Regions from separate parts of the Homo sapiens genome. Here region 1 is linked to region 2. Evidence: promoter capture Hi-C in 16 types of primary human blood cells and fetal thymus (Javierre and others, 2016). All regions are on one chromosome and are shown on one strand. Each heading gives the region's core, a stretch centred on a gene start or on the middle of the fragment in contact. The rest is flanking DNA. Distances are from core to core; before and after follow the strand shown.

Region 1 (2,700 bases), core at 133-2,632, 9.7 Mb before region 2:
TGAGTGCCTAAATTAAGAATAGAGTAACATCAAATCTTTCCATTGTAAAAGTAAATAAAATCTCAAAACAGTATCATGTGGTCTATTTCATTCACATACATATCCTTGTATGTAACACCCTTAAATTAAGATGTATTATTCCACATTTTAAAACTACTTGTATTTAAAGGTGACTGATAAACAAGAGGCCAAGAATGTTAGCTTTCCTGATGGTAATCAAACGTGGCACTTCCTTAACGTTCTGATGACCAGGCTCCTTACTCAGAGTCTAATTTTGTTTGGAGTGGTGTCCAGAAAAGTGCCACGAGCCCAGTTGGAGAAACACCGCTTTAAACAAAGAGCACAAAAAGTGAGCTCTGAAGTCGAATCCTTAGCTATGCCATTTACTGGGAATATAAAGGGCAAGGAGCTAGCCTCCTTATCTCTAACATGGGAATTCTGTCTACTTTATACAGCTGTCATTAGGATTAAACGACGTGGGCTATCCGTCCCAACACAATGCCTGGCACATATCAGGGTTCAATGTCTTGCCCTAAAGCACCACCTGCGTAAAGGCATACCCTTTAATACTAATTTTGATATTACACAAGTTTCTTTGGGTTATGGCACCTGCTTTCTTCCCACTTCTGGAAACATCGTGATGTTATTTAGCAAATCGGTTATACAGATATGCATACGAGCAACTTCGTTAAGGGAACTACCCAACGTAAAACATAATCAATACTTGAACTAATTTAATCTTCCCATTCCACCCCTTGTAACCACCTCATTTGTTGTCACAAGCCTCTCACTAAAATTAAACTAAAACAGAATTACCAGACACCAAAACTTGACACGTAAAACCAGTGCGAGTGATTTATGAAGCCATTATTCTGTTTGCATCTCCAAAAGCAAGACAGAAACTTCTAACACATTTTTCTCTTCCTTGACATGGGCCTTGGACGCAGAAGCCAAATAGCGAAACCACCCGAACTCGCCGGACCCTGCCCTCCCAAAGACTAAGGACACGTACAGGCGTGCTGTGAAAACGTGGGTGTAAAATATGAAAACGTTTGGCGATTTTCCAGACTCAAACCGCCAAACCACAACTCGTTAGTCTCCAAACGCTACACTTGGAATGCAGCAAAGTCCCGGGTGGTGAGCTGTGGCTACTCACGGCTTTGGAGGTGCCACCAGGAACAAGGGATTTCCAAAGATCAAAGTAAGGAACTTCCTCACCACCAACCTCCCTGTTGTGCCCCTTACCCCTACACCAGCTCAAAGGACTGCTTCTGAGAGCTCTAGGCTTCCTCAGCTCCTCGGATGGCAGCCGATTGGTAAGGAAATAAAGACAGGGAAAAGAGAACAACATCCATACCTGCAGACAACGTCCCCGGAAGAGGAAGAAAAAAGCCTTTGCCAGTTCAAAGGTCAAATAGAATTGCGCAGGACAGGAAGTTGCGTCAGAGAGAGAGTATCCGTGTTGTACGGAAGCCGACGCACCTCTCCGACGTGGGCAGAGATGCAGGGAACCACCACGTTGTACGGCAACCAACGTGCCGCCCCTCTGTGGGCGGGGATTCACACTAGCTGTCTGTGTCAAGGCCACGCAGAAATCTATTGGAAATCGCTGTGGAAACAAACGCAAATGAAAAGCCGCAAAGAGCAAAGGTGGGACAAAATCAACTTCTTTCGTTGTCATGGACACTGCACTTTTAATCTAAAGGGCGCCAGCTCTGGCGTTAGACCTGGGTTTAAATCCCAACTCTTGACATTTATGGTTAAGGGACCTTCAAGGACCAGGGACCTTCAAGAACCTTCCCTTCTTCAACCTTCCCTTCTCTTTCCTTGTCATTTATTCAGAGCACAAGCTTTACAAACAAATTGGGATTTTAATCCAGTGTCTGCTAATTATTAGCTATGTTACTTTGAGCAAGCCCTTAAATCTCTAAAAGGAAGATATTAGGAACTACCGTGCCATGTTATGTCATGATCAAAGGCATTATGAAGTTAAAGCACTTAGCACAGGGTCTTATAGAGAGGAAGTGCTCAGTAAATGGTTGCTAATCTTATGATTATGTACAAAGAACTACTTGAGGCTTTTCATGGGTGGTAAAGTTTAACCTTTAAAACAGTATGTAAAATTTTACATTAAGCGCACGTGTGTATTTTTCTGAGAAGAGGGTCCCTGGCTTTCATCACCTTGTCAAAGGGATTCATGACCTCTAAAAAAGTAAAGAACTCTTTGCCTGGGCTGTAAAAGACAATTCTAAAAGGGGCCTTTAAGTTTTTAATCTTAGATCAGGCTCCCTGGAAACACACCTCGAAGAGACTTGAGTGTTGGCTTATGGGGAGCGCTCTTAGAATGCACCTCCAGGAAGCTGAGAAAGGCGGGGTCAGGTGATCCACAACGTGGTTGCTGTGAGGCAGCTGCATTGCCCCAGAAGAGAGGATTTGGATAGGATATCCCAGTACCCACTCAACTTTCCTTCTAGTATTTCTAATCCATCTAGCAAACCAAGAAAGCAGGCAAGTGACTGAGGGCATGTAGTCTGTCTTGAACTGTGAGGCCTATTGATTCTATCAAGCCTCACATCACTGCCATCTTTGTCACAACACCAGATGGAAGGCTCTGGTTATATCCTTCCCTCTGCTCACTCTCAAATAGCTGCTTCTCCCCCGACCTTGTCATCAGCTACTTCCCTCCTTTCCAGTCCTTTG
Region 2 (2,786 bases), core at 193-2,692:
TAGTAATGAGACAGTGTCTTCTTCATTAGAACCTTAGGAGTCTACTAGATTTCTTCATCTCTATTTGTTGTTATTAGTAGCCAAACTGTGCAAAAAACACGGTCTTGAGAAATGACAGCACAGTATCTTAGAGGGAAAGGAAATGTAGGATGCCAGTGTGGGGACAAATTTCTGATTGCCAGTGATTGTTGTGAGCATAACAATAATTTCATGAACATTAAAGCCTCTATTGAGGGCAGCTGCAGTTGTAAAGGAAAAAAAATGGTCCTGAACATTTAAAACTACACTGGTGTACATCATAATCAAACAAAGTAAACAGAAAAAAATTTAAACTTTGCTAAAAAAAAAAAGCAGAAGCACTTGATCTTTAGGAAGGCACGCAGTTGCTTATTATGAATCATTTCTAGAGTCCGATGCATTTTCAAAGCCGGTTACAGTCATTACGAAGCACACCCTTGTGAGGTAAGTGTATCATCACCTTTGGTTCATAAATAAAAAAGCTGAGACGCCGAGCGATTAAGTCACTCGCCTAAGGAGAATGAGTCAACGTCAAGAGTCATAGTTGACCCGGCCTAAAGACTCCAGACCATCAGTCCAGGGCTTAGTCAGCGGGGCCCGGAGTGGCTTCCCTGGCTGGCATCTGGACTTAGGCTATTTCCGTGCACGTAAAAGCGGAATATTGGAACGGTTGCACAGAACTTCCAAATAATTTTTACCGCCACGCAAGATTTAGCCCTGAGGTCTTAATCTCAGGATTTGGGACAGTAAAAGCTGTCGTCCCTCCCCCTCGTCCAGCCGGTGGCAAGCGGGTACTGCGGGCGGTTCCGTCCGTCCCCTTTCGCAGAAATGGCAACGAATGACCACCAGCATTAGCTGAGCCAGGGGACGTGGGAGGGTTGATTGCCTAAACGACTCTGCATCGCCGCCTCTTTTTGAAACTAAGAGAAAATGGTGGGAGATCAAAAGAAAACTAAATAAACACACAGGCAACTTGTCCTGGGACCTCAACTAAGCAAATGAAGCCTTATTGTGTGTGCTGAGCCTGCAGTTCCCAACCTTCCGGGGAAGATGGGAGGACAGGGCGACAAAGGGCACAGTAGGCTTGCCTGGCAGTAAGTGTGACCGCAGCTATCCAGGCGGAAGAGCAGAGGACTGAAACCACCCTCCAGCAAGCGAGTGTCCGCCGCGTTGAGAACCGCGCACCCTACCCATCGGCCACGTGACCAGTCCTTTTTAAAAAAAATTTCTTTACCTTAAAAAAAAAAAAAAAAAAAAGGTGGGGGAGAGACTCCACTTCCCAGAAGCCTCTCGTTACTCACGCAGCCGCAGTCTTGCGCAGGTGCCGCCAGGGCCAAACGGACATATCCGTCACGTGGCCAGAAGCTGGCCAATCCGGTTTGAATCTCATTTTTTTCCTCTTACCCCCCCTTCTGGAGCGGTTGTGCGATCAGATCGATCTAAGATGGCGACTGTCGAACCGGTGAGTATTGCCTTTGGCCCCCACCCCCACGGGTCCCCGCGCTCCGTCTTCCTTCTGACTGGGGGACTCCGCGGGACGGCGTTCCCGGCGCGCACTGTACCCCTTGCCGCCCCTTCCCCTTCATGTTGGACCTGACCTCCCGCGGACAAGTGGGGACGTCCCGGAGGATGGCCGAGGCGGCGTGTAGCGCACACTTTCTGGTGGGGGCCCGAGAACTGGGGGAGCGGTGTGGGGGAGGGGCGGCGTGGCGCCTCCTGCGGAACCGCGAGGTGTCTACAGGGTGGAGGGTAGCTGGGGTTCTGGGCTGGGTATGCGAGGATGGTGTCTTCATGATAGGAAGGCGCAGGGCCGGCTCCCAGCGAGTACTGGGATCCGCAGGCAGGGTGGGCGGCGAGCCGGCCTGGAGTGAGATGGAGGAGGGAGCCCTGGAGCAGCCTTTCCCTCCCTGCAGAACCCCAGCTCCGGGGCTCGGGTGCGGGGCGCGCGCACGTCTTCCTTAGACCGGTGGACTGGGGAGCTGGTGGGCGAGTGTTGCCGGAGGGTGGGTTAGGCGGGAGTGGTGCCGCGGCACGCGCGGAGGAGCTTCGACCTCGCTTAGGGGAGTTGAGAGGGGCGAGCGTCTGTTAATCCAGCGCGCCGGAGAGTTGCCGGTGTTTGCGCCAGGGGAAGCGAGAAAGGTCTGGGGTGGGAAGGAACACTCGTGTGTCACGGTGAAGCTCTCCAAGTAGAATGAGGGATGGTGGTGGTGAGAAGGGGTATCACATTGTCCTCGCCCCTCCATGCTTGGGACTGGGCTGTCATGGAGGAGGGAAGGGGGAGGAGCGAGGCCTACAGATCGCTGTAGCCGGTCGGCTTGCCGGCCGGACCTGCTGCATTTCACACGCGCCCGTCTTCCATTCATTCATCCTTTCCGCGTAGTGCGCACGCCTCAGAGAATGCGAATGGGTCTCAATCCCTCTGTTCTTCCGAGTCTTTATCTCCTGGAAGATTTCTGAGACGCAGTTTATTGGAAATAGAAACTTTTAAATTTACTTTTCCATTTGACTTTTTTTTTCTCTTTATCTATGCTACAGACTTTCATTTCAATTTAGGCACCATTTTAAACTTAACTGAAGCAAGCTGGTCCCAGGGTAGGTTTGTAGTTAATCTTTAAGCAGAGGGTATATTTTTCATAATTTGGGTTTGCCAGGACTGGCTCACTGAAACTTCTGGGCCCTGTTGCCTTTTTAGAAACGACACAGCTAAGTGAAGATATCTTGTGTGCATAATGGGGTTTATTAGCAATCAGAAAACCTTTCACACTCTG

The links. The method cuts DNA at HindIII sites, captures the fragments that hold promoters and counts their contacts. A CHiCAGO score of 5 or more calls a contact.
Region 1: a contact is called between the fragment with the promoter of RPL34 here and the fragment with the promoter of EIF4E in region 2, in 1 of 17 cell types (neutrophils). The highest score is 13.8, in neutrophils.

What each region holds. Positions count from the first base shown.
Region 1 is chr4:108,619,258-108,621,957 of GRCh38, reverse strand. It overlaps RPL34 (ribosomal protein L34), which reads right to left and starts at 1,382. Exons shown (of 5, transcript NM_001319236.2): 1 at 1,358-1,382; 2 at 1-7. It overlaps RPL34-DT (RPL34 divergent transcript), which reads left to right and starts at 1,501. Exons shown (of 4, transcript NR_026968.1): 1 at 1,501-1,650. RefSeq lists enhancers at 1,370-1,419, 645-1,844. The HindIII fragment of the contact is 3,742 bases long and covers 1-1,852 here.
Region 2 is chr4:98,927,789-98,930,574 of GRCh38, reverse strand. EIF4E (eukaryotic translation initiation factor 4E) reads left to right here and starts at 1,442. Exons shown (of 7, transcript NM_001968.5): 1 at 1,442-1,480. The coding sequence starts at 1,463. RefSeq lists an enhancer at 1-1,048. The HindIII fragment of the contact is 5,241 bases long and covers 1-2,786 here.